3 separate regions of the Homo sapiens genome follow, and all the other regions are linked to region 2. Evidence: promoter capture Hi-C in 16 types of primary human blood cells and fetal thymus (Javierre and others, 2016). All regions are on one chromosome and are shown on one strand. The core of a region is centred on a gene start or on the middle of the fragment in contact, and the rest is flanking DNA. Distances in the headings are between cores, read along the strand shown.

Region 1 (4,803 bases), core at 80-2,579, 340 kb before region 2:
GCCTGGCCAACATGGTGAAAACCTGTCTCTACTAAAAATACAAAAATTAGCTATTCAGGAGGCTGAGGCAGGGAATTGCTTGAACCTGGGAGGCAGAGTTTGCAGTGAGCCTAGATTGCACCACTGTACTCCAGCCTGGGTGGCAGAGTAAGGCTGTCTCAGGAAAAAAAAAAAAAAAAAAAAAAAATTTGAAAGGAACACAGTCTTTGAAAGAATGAGAAACAATGCTTTCAATGGGGAGTGGGTACAGGCCATGAAGAGGGAGCTATCTCGCTGTGTCTTAAACCAGAAAGCTCTGCATGTGAGGTGGGCCCAGAAAAGATGAAGGTGACTCTAGAAAGACCCAGTGTGCCTACGGGTGTAAGCCTTCTAAGTCTCCCTGTTTCTGGTTTTTCCACTCAATTTTTACTGCACCAAAGAGCAGACAAGGAGGAATATAGGAGAGAAAGCATGGGCCATAAAAGACACTAATATAGTGTTACAAAGTCCAAGTCTATCCTTAATCACAATGTATACAAACATGTTATGTTTCCTCATTAAAAGGAAGGAGGGAGACAGAGAAGGGAGGAGACTTTTTACAAGAGATTTACCTACAATAAAACCAAACAATAGAAAAGGTTGAAAAGAAAGGAAGGAAAAAGGGTACACCAAGCAAGTTCTAACAACAAGAGAAAAAGCTGTGTAGAATTATTAATATGAGACAAAACAGACTCTAAGGCTAAGCATTTAATGGGCATAGAATGGAATATTTCATATTGATAAAAAACCAATAATCAATCCCTAAGTTGTCGAACAATGTCCAAGTCAGGAAACCTAGAAGTTACTCTTTTTTTCTTTTTTTTTGAGATGGAGTTTCCCTCTTGTTGCCCAGGCTAGAGTGCAATGGCACAATCTCGGCTCACTGCAACCTCCTCTGCCTCCTGAGTTCAAGCGATTCTCCTGTCTCAGCCTCCCAAGTAACTGGGATTACAGGCATACACCACCATGCCTGGCTAATTTTGTATTTTTAGTAGAGACAAGGTTTCACCATGTTGGCCAGGCTGGTCTCAAACTCCTGACCTCAAGTGATCCATCTGCCTCAGCCTCCCAAAGTGCTGGGATTACAGGCATGAACCACCACGCCCAGTCTAGAAGTTGCTCTTAATTCTCCACCCTCTCACATCTAAAACATCAGCAAGTCCAGTTTATTCTTCTTCCAAAATGCATTGTAAATCCACCCATTTCTTTCCATCTCCACAGCACATCATCCCTAGTCCTGGCCACCATCTTCTCTCAAATGTAGTCCTGCAATGGTGCTCTAACTGGCCTCCTGACACTGAAATTAATCTCCCCCAAGCAACTTCAAATTGGTTAACCTGGCCAACATGGTCTTCCGCAGGCAGGCCTCTGCCCAACTCTGACTGCACCTCTGACACTGTGACTCTCATCCAGGCACAGTGGCCTCCCTTCTGTCACCTGATCAGCCCAATCAGTTACATCTTGAGCCTTTGCAGCAACTTTTCCCACTGCATAGAATGCTCCTTTCTCACACCTTCAGGGGTATAGCAGTCCTTTAAAATTCATCTGTTAGTTTAAATGGCACCCCCTAAGAAAGGAGGGTGAAGTTTTTCAATACTTGTTAATATAGGAGCATAAGAATTACTGTAATTATCTTTCAACCTATTTGTTACCTTTATAAATAAACTTCTTATGACATAGACTACTAACACTAATCTGTGAAATGTTGAATTATGATGAAAACAGAGAACTGAGAGGCTGGGCACGGTGGCTCGTGCCTGTAATCCCAGCACTTTGGGAGGCTGAGGCAGGAGGATTACTTGAGGCCAGAAGTTTGAGACCAGCCTGGGCAACATAGTGAGACCCCTGTCTCTACAAAAAAACAATATAAAAATCAGCTGGACGTGGTGACACACACCTATAGTCCCAGCTACTCAGAAAGCTGAGGAGGGAAGACAGCTTGAGCCCAGGAGGTCAAGGATGCAGTGAGCTATGATCACACCACTTCACTCCAGCCTGGGCGACAGAGTGAGACCCTGTCTCAGAGACAGCGAGAGCAAATGGGGGTAGGGGGGAACACTAAGGATTCTCCTTCAAATAGTCCAATTTATTTCTTTTTTGTTTTTTTGAGACGGAGTCTTGCTCTGTCGCCCTGGCTGGAGTGCAGTGGTGCGATCTCGGCTCACTGCAACCTCCGCCTTCAGCGTTCAAGCAATTCTCCTGCCTCAGCCTCCCAAGTAGCTGGGATTACAGGCGTGCGCCACCACACCCGGCTAAATTTTGTATAAAACAAGTACCATCCACTAGATGGCGCTTCTAGCCTGTTCTATCCTGTTCTTGACTCTTTTCAGGACCCTGGACAGTGCCTGGTGTACAGCAACCGTTCCGTAACTATTGAATGATTTGTCATAAACTTACATGCACCCTGAACCTATCAGCACAGCTTTAAAATATATAAGGCAAATGGGTCTACAAAAAGAAAGAGACGAGTGTGAAGCCAACCCACACCCCTTAGAAACATACTAGGGAAACCCAAAACAACAAAGAACTTTTTAAATGCAAAAGTAGAATGACTGCTTTTACCCTCTGTATTTCTGAATTATTTTTTCAGGATTAATATGTATTACTTTGATAAATGAGATTAAATTTTTCTTCATGTTCCCTTCTCAAATTGTAAAGTCTTTTACTATGGTTCTAAGGAGCTGGTCAAACCTGTTCAGGGGTGTTAAGTGCACACCAAGATGGAAGGTGACAGGAAGGTGTATAACATTAGGATTATATTTAGGTTTATTCTTTTTTTTTTTTTTAGACGGAGTGTTGCTCTGTCACCCAGGCTGGAGTGCAGTGGCATGATCTCAGCTCACTGCAATCTCCACCTCCCAGGTTCAAGTGATTCTCCTGCCTCGGCCTCCCAAGTAGCTGGGATTATAAGCCTGCACCTCCACGCCCAGCTAATTTTTGTACTTTCAGTAGAGACGAGGTTACACCATGTTGGCCAGGCTGGTCTCAAATGCCTGACCTCAGGTGATCTGCCAACCTTGACCTCCCAAAATGCTGGGATTACAAGTGTGAGCCACCACGCCCAGCCTGTTTAGAGTTATTCTAAAAATCATAACTTCTTGGAATTAAAAAAGTTCTATACATGGCTAGTAACCCCTTCTGCAGCTGAAACTGACTACAAGTCCCCTTCTGTCACCCAGAGTGACCAGAATTGTGTTCTGTGAGGGGCAGGGTTCACTGGATAGCATGAGGTGACGTGCCAGGCTGAATTCTCTCCCTGCAGTGGAGGCTACTCTACAATAAAGTGAAAGGAAGATCTGACCTAATGCCCTGCAGAGCTTCATTTCTCCCACCATCTGGTTTTGTAAGGAAAAAAAGTATGTGCTTCTATGTATTTTTTTTAGCACTACTCCTTAATTTAAATGTCTATTTAAAAAAGACCAAAGCTTAACTGGTTATCTTTGAAATATAATTTCTTTTTATTTTCTTCTTTTACTTCTTTATATTTTCTTATATTTCTACAATCATAAGTACAAATTAGGTGGCAAAGAAATGATATAAAAGAAGCATGGTATCTGCCAAATCAAATTCTCTGGATGAGCTAATGCCCACCCAAGTGGCAAGTTGAGGAAAGGAGGGTGCTGTTGACTTACGGTCCATTTCTAATCTGTCCTGAGCGTTGGTAAGGCCAGGGGCTGGACAGTGGGCTATTGGAGAGGACTCCAGTCTCAGGCCAATGTACTCGGTACTTCCATCAGGAGGGTATGTGGCAGCTGGCCCTTCCATCCACAGTATCTTTTGGGCAGCTATACTGATCACTGTGGGAAAGAGAGTTTCTGCGGTGCCAGCTGAGTTGGTCTTCCCTGTGTGAGACACCCAAGGGGAGCCATGGGCGGCCTCTGAGGAGAAAAGTCTTCTTATTGCCTTCATGTCTTTATGCCCCGACAGCATAACCACTCAGCAGAATTCCACAGTTGCTCAAGGAGGTAACACTCCCTTGAAGCAGTGGAGTATAATCAAACATCTTGGCCCCTCCTGAAAGCCACTCCCACCCATTTCAGTCCCGATAAGTTAAAGATCTTAAGTAGTTTAGACACATGCCTTTGCTCAAGGAAATTCACAGAAACCACCACAGCTACACATATTATTGAATGACTCATGAGTTCTCCTTCACTGATTAATCCTTTTCCTCATCCCTTCCTACCCCTCCCATCTGCCCTAAGAACAAAGAGCTTGTAAACCAATAAATCAGGCAGAGCCTGGGCTGTGAGCAAGCCTCCGATGCTCAGGTCCCCTGGACCTGCTTTTTAAACGCTTATTCTGTCTCTTTCTAACTCCTTTGTCTCCGCTGGACTCAGGGTAGCAGGTGGTGTGGGGCTGGTTTCCCCAAACAATCACTGTAACAGATAAGGCAACATAAATACACTTTCTCATAACTTGTCATCTGCACTAGATTTAACAGCAGCACCAGTGATTCTGCAGTGCCCTCCAGGCACTGGAGCAGGATGACTTTAGGCATTTCTACAAACCCAAAACCTCCTTTCCTTTGTTGCCTCTCTTGACTCCACCCAGGGGTGCTTCTGTTTGAGGACTCATAGGGGAGCCAAATAAAGAACATATTGGGCCCATATTTTTAAATTATTTTCCTTATGATGTTATTGCAAATCACAGACTATCTTCCTGGGAATAATCCAAAATGTTCATTGCTTTTCTTTCTAGTGTGGGCAAACTAAATTTCTGTGATTGAGACCAGGACAAATTGGTCTTAATAGATGTTCCCTTCCAATAGGCCTGGTAGATGTGAAT
Region 2 (4,708 bases), core at 271-2,770:
TAGGGACCATCCACACAAACAGAATATGTGCAGCTGTGAAAAGACTGGGCCACCTCTCCATGTGCAATAGGAACAGCTCCATCTTGCCAGGCGTGGTGGCTCACACCTGTAATCCCAGTACTTTGGGAGGTGAAGGTGGGGCGGATCCCTTGAGCCTAGGCATTCCAGACCAGCCTGGGCAATGCAGTGATATGCTCTCATTGTGTAAATAAAACAAAATAATACATTATTTGCTTTGCAGATGCCACTGCCGCCAGGAGCCCTGTAACATCAGCCATCGTCAACCCCACCGTGTTCTTCAACATCACCGTTGACGGCAAGCCTTTAGACCTGCGTCTCCTTCAAGCTGTTTGCAGACAAGGTTCCAAAGCCAGCAGAAAACTTTTGTGCTCTGAGCACTGGAGAGAAAGGATTTGGTTATAAGAGTTCCTGCTTTCACAGAATTATTCCAGGGTTTATGTGTCAGGGTGGTGACTTCATACGCCATAATGGCACTGGTGGCAAGTCCATCTATGGGGAGAAATTTGATGATGAGAACTTCATCCTAAAGCATACAGGTCCTGGCATGTTGTCCATGGCAAATGCTGGACCCAATACAAATGGTTCCCAGTTTTTAATCTGCACTGCCAAGACTGAGTGGTTGGATGGCAAGCTTGTGGTCTTTGGCAAGGTGAAGGCATGAATATTGTGGAGGCCATGGAGTGCTTTGTGTCCAGGAATGGCAAGACCGGCCAGAAGATCACCATTGCTGACTGTGGACAGCTCTTATAAGTTTGACTTGTGTTTTATCTTAACCACCAGACCATTCCTTCTGTAGCTCAGGGGAGCACCCTCCACCCCATTTGCTCCCAGTATCCTAGAATCTTTGTGCTCTCGCTGCGGTTCCCTTTGGGTTCCATGTTTTCCTTGTTCCCTTCCATGCCTAGCTGGATTGCAGAGTTAAGTTTATGATTATGAAATAAAAACTAAATAACAAAATAATAATAATAGTACATTATTTGCTTCTCAGTGCATACAACATCTCTGGAAAGATCTAAAAGAAACTGGTAGTAGGATTCAACAAGGTGGACAGGGGGCATTTTTTTCCATTTTGAACCATGTGGATGCATTATATATTCAAAATGTAAAACAAAAAACTCACAAGCATCTCTTACTTTTTCAACTTGAAGAAAAGAGAAGAAGAAGAAAACCCTAAAGTCAGTAAAGGTTAGCCTGGGTTCCTAGACTTAAGCTTGATAGTAACCAGAATGTCAGGCCACATGTGGTGTAGGTCATAGGGTCCTGGCTTTTGGTCACCCACTGTTAGGCTCATATAACAGACAAGGAGGTGCCATTGTCCGTTGTCTGTCCCTTTTACATCAGCTCATCTTGGCTCCTGATTTCCTGGGTCTGATATGGAAGATTCCGGGATTTTATTATTTCTAATCAACATCGCCTTCCCAAACCCCGCCCCTTGGCAGCCATAGCAAGGCCACATCTAGCCCAGGATCACATAAAAAGGGCTGTTTCCTCCCCTGAGGACCGACTGTGTGGAAGCACCAGGCATCAGAGATAGAGTCTTCCCTGGCATTGCAGGAGAGAATCTGAAGGGATGATGGATGCATCAAAAGGTGAGTGGGTGAAATCTCCATGGAGCCCCACATGCCCCTTCAGCCAGCTGGCCCTAAACTGCTCTCTTGCCTCTGCCGGGTGCCTGGGGCCATTGCCCTCTCACCCTGACTTGTGGCCCTGGTGCTGCTTGCTTTCTGTCTCATCCCTTTTTAGAAAACCCACAAACTTTTCATTTAGGCATAATTTCAGATTTACAAAAAGATTGCAAGAATAAAAAGAAGAATTTCCATATATCCTTTATCCAGATTCCCTAAATTATTACTGCATTTGCTTTATCCTTCTCGATCAGTGGACAGATAGATGATATAGACAGATAGATAGACAAATATATATTTTTTGAACTCTTGAGAGTAAGTTGCAGATATTACATTATTAAATATTTTGGTGTGTATTTCCTAAAGACAAGGACATTCTCTTACGTAACCAATACAATTATGAAGACCAGGACATGAACACCATTTCAATACTGTTATCCAACCCACAGATTTTATGCAGATTTCATCAACTGTCCCAATAATGTCATTTATAGCAGAAGAAAATCCTGGGTTAGGCTTTGCATTCCGTTGTTGTGCCTCTTCGGTCTCCTTTGTCTGGAATAGTTCTTCTGTCATTCTTGGAGTTTTGTGACTTCAACACTTTTGAAGAGTACAGACCAGTTATTTTGTAGAATGTCTCTCAATGTGTCCTGTCCTTTCTCAAGGTCACCTGATGGATTTCCCTACTGCAGAGGGTCTGTCTGCTGCTGTCAGCAGTGTCATTGCTTCTCAGAGTGGGGAATAGCAGAGCGGAGTCATGTGCCAGGCTCTGTGTCCCATGAGGATGCAGCCGCCTACCACCACCAAGAGCAGACACCAGAGCCCTCAGTTTTACTTCAGGGAGTCCGGGTGCTGCTAGGGAACAACGAGGCTGGGTTTGAACCCCTCTGCTGACTCCCCAGCCCACAAGCCCTCTGTAACCTCCCAGCAGGGTTTGCTCAGCAGCCTTCTCTCTTGCTTGAGAAGCTGCTTGATAAGCCAAGGAATGGCTGCTTTGAAACTCTGCAAAGGGACTAAGCCAGACCCTCCTAGTTTCCACCTTCTTTTTTGGAGGGTGACATTGCGAAATAAATCAGACTCTTCTTTTTAGTCCCAAGGCCACAGAGTTTTGAATTCCTCCTTAGATGGCTGACGCCTCAGCTAGACTCAGTCTTGGAGGGTACAGAGTCCTTAGGACTGAGAAAGGGTGGTGTGGTGTGATGGGAAGCACCTGCTGATTTGAGAGAAGATTCATGTCTAAATAGCCCTGTGGCTTTGGGCAGGTTACATCAATCCCGTGAAAGCACTATATAAATTACTGAGGACTACCTGAAGGAAAGGTAGTCCTGACCCACACTGTCATTTTCAAGAGGTGTGACCTGTTCACTGGGGAGGTTTGATGACTTGACTGAGGTCCCAGCCATGGGTGGCAGAGCTGGGACACAAACCCGGCGTGTGTTCATTTCATGCCACACTATGCTGCCTCCCTGCTGGGCACAATTTGACTTTACTCTCAAGGTCTAAATCACCAAAGACAGTCATCTCCTGGCCACCAGTGTTGGGGTGTTGGTGAGGGGAGCTGACGCTCCCTGAGGTGTCCTTTCTGATGGGCTTGTGCAAGTAACCATCACATGCCACCTTACAACATTAGCAAGTTGTGATGACTCCATGGTGTTTTCATGAATATGATTTCATTTGTTCTTCCAACCACTCTAGGAGGTCAGGACATCCAAATAGGGACCTGGAAGATGGTGATATGTGTGGGATAAAGGTAGGATTTCATATAAATGGAGGAAATGAGAAATTGTGCACTTTATGGTATTAGGACAACTGGTTAGTATTTAGAGAAAAACAAAGCCAGATATCTATCTCATGGCTTATCCCACAACGAATCCCAGAAAGGTCGAAGACGAAACTGTAAAGGCAATAGAAGAAAATGAAGGCAATATGAAAAATAATCTTAGAGTAGAGAAGGTGTTACAAAGGAAAATAGAAAACCTAGAAACATAAAGGAAAAGAACAGTAAAACTGACTCCAGAAAAATTAAAAATATGTGTAAGACAAAACCTCCAGAGTCAGAAGGTAATGGAACTGTGAAGGGTACTTTCAACACATATGAGAAGCAAATGCTGTTCTGTAGTATAAAAAGAGCTCTCAGATCTATAAGAAAATGACCAACATCCCAAAATATACATGGACAAAGAGCAGTATTAGGTAGTTCAAAGAAAAAGAAATATAAATTGTAATATATGAAAAGATGCTCAACCTTACTTGTAACGAGGGTGGTCATGAAATAAAACTGAAACAGCAGGCCAGGTATGGTGGTTCATGCCTATAATCCCCAAAATTTGGGAGGCTGAGGTAGGAGGATTGCTTGAGCCCAGGAGTTCGAGACCAGCCTGGAAAACATAGTGAGACCCTGTCTCCACAAAACAATTTAAAAATTAGCCGTGGCCCAGCAAGGTGGCTCATGCCTGTAATCCCAGCACTTTGGGAAGCCAAGGTGGGCAGATCACTTGAGATCAGAAGTTAGGGACAAGCCTGGCCATCATGGTGAAACCCCGTCTCTACTAAAAAATACAAAAATTAGCCGGGTGTGGTGGGGTACACCGGTAATCCCAGCTACTTGGGTGACTGAGGCATGAGAATTGCTTGAACCTGGGAGGCGGAGGCTGCAGTGAGCTGAGACTGCACTCCAGTCTGGGCAACAGAGCGAGACTTTGTCTCAAAAATAAATAAATAAATAAAAATAAAAATTAGCCAGACATGGTGGTGCATATCGGTAGTTCCAGCTACTCAGCTACTCAGGTTCAAGGCTGCAGTGAGCCATGATTGCAACACTGCACTTCAGCCTGGGTGACAGGCCAAGACTCTGTCTCTTAAAAAAAAAAAAGGTTATATAAAAGCAAAACAGCAATGAGATTTCATTTTTTCATTTATCAGATTAGCCAAGATTAAAAGTTTAATAGTAAATAGCTTTAAAAAGGCATCTTCTCATCTTTTTGTAGGAGTATCACTGGTGCAGTCGCTAGAAGGCTCTCTGGCAACATTTGCTGAAATTAAAGATGCCCATATCCTGTGAC
Region 3 (4,397 bases), core at 778-3,277, 380 kb before region 2:
GCTGTGAATGTCCATTGTTCCATACAAGAATGACTCTTCTCTTGGCTATTTAGAGATCATGAGGGATACTGCCCCAGTTTCCACAGGCCAGATGGTCTCCAACAAAAGCCACGGGGGAGTCACCCCTGCCTGGCAGATCTATCGGGTCAGGACCACCGCCCAGGGGGTCCTGGAGAGGACAGTATAGGACCAAAGAGGATTATTCATGAGCCTAAGATCTCATGAAACGTGCCTTGCTAAGTTTTAGACTTGCATAGGACCATCATCCCCCTGCTCCCCCATCCTTTTTTATTTTTTATTGATAGGGTTTCACTCTGTCATCCAGGCTGGAGTGCAGTACGATCACAACTCACTGTAGCCTCGAACTCCCATGCTCAAGCCACCATGCCCAACTAATTATTTTTATTATTTTTGTAGAAATAAGGTCTCCCTATGTTGCCCAGGCTGGTCTCGAACTCCTGGACTCAAGCAATCCTCCCACCTCAGCCTCCCAAAGTGCTAGGATTAAAGGCATGAGCTATCACACCCAGCCTCATCATCCCTTTCTTCCTTCCAATTTCTCACTTTTGGAATTGGAATACCTAATCCTGCCTATCCCATCACTGTATTTTGGAAGCACATAACTTGTCTGGTTTCATAGGTTCACAGCTGGAGGGGAATTTTGCCTCAGGATAAGCTAAACCTTGGGTCTCACCCATATCTGATTTAGATATTTTTGAGACAAAGTCTCACTGTCGCCCAGGCTGGAGTGCAATGGTGCGATCTCGGCTCACTGCAACCTCTGTCTCTCGGGTTCAAGCGATTCTCCTGCCTCAGCCTCCCCGTGTAGCTGGGATTACAGGTGCACACCATCACGCCCAGCTAATTTTTGTATTTTTAGTAGAGATGGGGTTTCACCATGTTGGTCAGGCTGGTCTCGAACTCCTGACGTAGTGATCCACCCGCCTCGGCCTCCCAAAGTGCTGGGATTACAGGCGTGAGCCACCATGCCCGGCCTTTATTTAGATATTTAGATATTTAGATGAGACTTTGGACTTTAAATGTTAGTTGATACTAGAATGAGTTAAAACTTTGGAGGCTGTTAGGATGGAATGAACTTATTTTGTATGTAAGGATATGAATAGAGTGGCTAGGAGTGGAATGTTATAGAATGAATATTTATGTTGAAGCCCTAACCCCAAATGTTATATTTGGGGGTGGGGGGCCTTTGGAAAATAACTAGGATTGGAGTAGGTCATGAGAATGGGGCTGTCACTCTCACTAACGCCCTTAAAAGACTTGGAAGAGGCACCAGTGCTCTTGCTCTCTGAAATTTGAGGACACAGGAAAAAGGGGGCCATCTGCAAACCAGGAAGAGAGCCCTCACCAGCACTCAACCATTCTGGCATCTTGATGTTGAATTATGAAGACTACAGAACTGTGAGAAATAAATGTCTGTTGTTTAAGCCATCCTCTATGGTATTTTGTTATAATAGCTCAAACTGACTAAAACAGTTGCTAAAGATATATCCCTCCCAATCCCCTCACCCAAAGAACCAGGCCCAGTTACTTTTAGCAAGCCTTCAAGGAACAATTCCCATGTTATACAAACTCTCCATAGCAATAAGATAAACAAAATTTTTTCCAAATTCTTTTGCAAAGCTAGCAAAGCATTACCAAATTGAATCTACTTCTGTACTTAATAAAAATTCACTATGAACAAATAGATTTTACTTGAAAAGTACAAGGAAATTGCAAATATTTGCAAACTTGTCAAGAAAATGAATTACAAAAAGAAAAAACCATAACTCATAAAATTACAATGATGGAGTTTTTAAACTTGATATAATATAGCAACCAATCCTAATAAAAACTTTTTAAGTATAGGCCAGGCATGGTGGCTCACACCTGTATTCCCAGCACTTAGAGAAGCTGAGGCAGGATGATCGCTTGAGGCCAGGACCGCAAGACCAGCCTGAGCAAAATAGTGAAACCCCATGTTTACAAAAAATAAAAATAAAAACTTAGTCGGGCATGGTGGCACATGCCTGTATTCCTAACTATAGGGGAGGTTGAGGCAGGAGCATCTCTTGAGCCCAGGAGTTCAAGGCTGAGGTGACCTATGGTCACATCACTACACTCCAGCCTGAGCAACAGAGGGAGACCTTGTCAAAAAAAAAAACAGAAAACAAAACTGTAAGTATAATAATAATTGGGAAACTGTGCACTGTGTGCCCAGTATTGTTACAATAATGTATTCTTCACAACCCTATGAGGTAGCTCCATTTTATAGATGGAGGAATAAGATACAAGGAAGGTAAGTGATTTGCCCAGGATCACACACCTAACAAAGTGGTGGACTCAGGATTTGAACCTAGGGCACTGGGAACAAAATCTGTGCTCTTAACCACTAAACTACACTGCTTCTTCTAGAAATAAGATTAGAAGGAAACTTCCTAAATCTAACAGAACATCAGAATCCAACAATGAACACGATATGAAACTGCAGAATACTAAAAACATTCCCCCAAGCGTTAAGAGAAAGACATCTACTGTTCCATGTTTTCTGAAGTTCTTGCTAATGCACAACATAAGTGACATCAAAAGACAAATAAATCATTATTTATTCTAAACCTAGAAAAGCTAGGAAATGAATCTAACAAATTATTAAACCTAAAAATAATTTATCAACATAATTGGATCCAGATAAAATTTGTTTAAATCAATAATTAAAGTTTATACTAGCAGTGACCAATAGAAATTGAAGTATGGCTTTCAAATGCAGCCAGTTTTCCTCCATCCAAGAGCCTGAGGCTTTTTCAGGATTCACTTGTACTGAGCACCCACACCAGACTGGTGGCAGTGAGTTAATATAGTTAGGAAATGGTGCACATTCCCACACTCTGGAGGCTTAGTATGGTAGGGGATGAGCAGGCAAGAACCAGAAGGTAAAACTGCAGCTTCCAACAGGCAGGATGGTTCTTCTGCAGACATGACTGGCAATGTCCAACTCAGGGCGGGGAACCAGAAATGTCCAACTCATGTGCTCATATAGTGTGGGGCTCTTCCCTGAAATCTGGGGGCTCCCAAAATAAGACAGTTAAAGAGGAAAAAGTCCTATCTGCATATCTTTTAAAAGAAAATGGAAAAAAATACAAAAAAACAAGCTGAAAACATTTAAAATACATATTCACAAATGGTAAAATTCCAGCCGTGTCATGAGCTCCGGTTTGTTGTTTTGTTGTTGTTATTGAGACAGAGTCTCGCTCTGTTGCCCAGGCTGCAGTACAGTGGTGTGATCTTGGCTCACTGCAATCTCTGCCCTCCAGGTTCAAGTGATTCTCTTGCCTCAGACTCCTGAATAGCTGGGATTACAGGCGTGCACCACCACACCCAGCTAATTTTTGTATTTTTAGTAGAAACGGGGTTTTACAATGTTGGCCAGGCTGGTCTCAAACTCCTGGACTCAGGTGATCTGACCGCCTCAGCCTCCCAAAGTGCTGGGATTACAGGCATGAGCCACTGTGCCCAGACAAGTTTAGAAATTTCAAAAGGCCCTGAAAAACTTTAGGCCCCCAGTAATCCTTTCTAACTTTGTCTGAGACATCTCCCCAACAATCACATTTAATTCTAATTTTCTTGATCCTCAACTCTCTTTCCTTTCTCCTGCATTGTCTGAAACATACACCACAGTGCACAAAATCACCCCTCCAGGTTACATGACTGACATTGCCCCTCTAGCCTCCTCCTCCACCTTTGTCATACTGCGGATCCTGTCAGCCTGTTAAGAAATCTGGGGGATGGAGGCCAGGCGTGGTGGCTCATGCCTGTAATCCCAGCACTTTGGGAGGCCGAGGCAGGCAGATCACGAGGTCAGGAGATCGAGACCATCCTGGCTAACACGGTGAAACCCCATCTCTACTAAAAATACAAAAAAAATTAGCCGGGCCTGGTGGCGGGCGCCTGTACTCCCAGCTACTCGGGAGGCTGAGGCAGGAGAATGGCATGAACCTGGGAGGCAGAGCTTGCAGTGAGCTGAGATCGTACCACTGCACTCCAGCCTGGGCGACAGAGCAAGACTCCGTCTCAAAAAAAAAAAAAAAAAGTCTGGGGATGGAAAGAGAACAGGGTGAACATTAGAGTAAAAGGTCCACCGGCACTGGGCCATTATTGCAAGGGTGGAAGGAAAGGTGGTTCAAGCTCATGGACTGACATATGACTGCAGAAGGAAAGGTGGTCTGGAAGATAATTAAGGCACAGTTCTCATCTTGAAATTAAGACAGCAGTTGTAGTGAGAAAGGACTAGCTGATAAGGAAAACAGATTAGTTTGATACTACTATTTTACCAAAAACCTCATCACTCTGAATTCCAATCATCCAGGAATGCTGCTAGCTGAAATTTTCAATCATCTATATTA

What was found. The method cuts DNA at HindIII sites, captures the fragments that hold promoters and counts their contacts. A CHiCAGO score of 5 or more calls a contact.
Region 1: a contact is called between a fragment that was not itself captured here and the fragment with the promoter of TGM4 in region 2, in 16 of 17 cell types (M1 macrophages, naive CD8 T cells, M2 macrophages and 13 more). The highest score is 13.4, in M1 macrophages.
Region 3: a fragment that was not itself captured here is called in contact with the fragment with the promoter of TGM4 in region 2 in 1 of 17 cell types (total CD8 T cells); the score reaches 5.2 in total CD8 T cells.

What each region holds. Positions count from the first base shown.
Region 1 is chr3:44,530,673-44,535,475 of GRCh38, forward strand. No RefSeq gene overlaps it. Among named protein-coding and RNA genes, the nearest start is that of ZKSCAN7, 22 kb to the right of the region's middle. RefSeq lists silencers at 2,185-2,313, 2,205-2,499. The HindIII fragment of the contact is 4,223 bases long and covers 1-3,441 here.
Region 2 is chr3:44,873,088-44,877,795 of GRCh38, forward strand. TGM4 (transglutaminase 4) reads left to right here and starts at 1,521. Exons shown (of 14, transcript NM_003241.4): 1 at 1,521-1,610. The coding sequence starts at 1,592. It also overlaps the pseudogene PPIAP18. The HindIII fragment of the contact is 7,350 bases long and covers 1,230-4,708 here.
Region 3 is chr3:44,492,958-44,497,354 of GRCh38, forward strand. It overlaps ZNF852 (zinc finger protein 852), which reads right to left. Exons shown (of 4, transcript NM_001423469.1): 4 at 1-4,397. Among named protein-coding and RNA genes, the nearest start is that of ZNF852, 15 kb to the right of the region's middle. The HindIII fragment of the contact is 5,935 bases long and covers 1-4,397 here.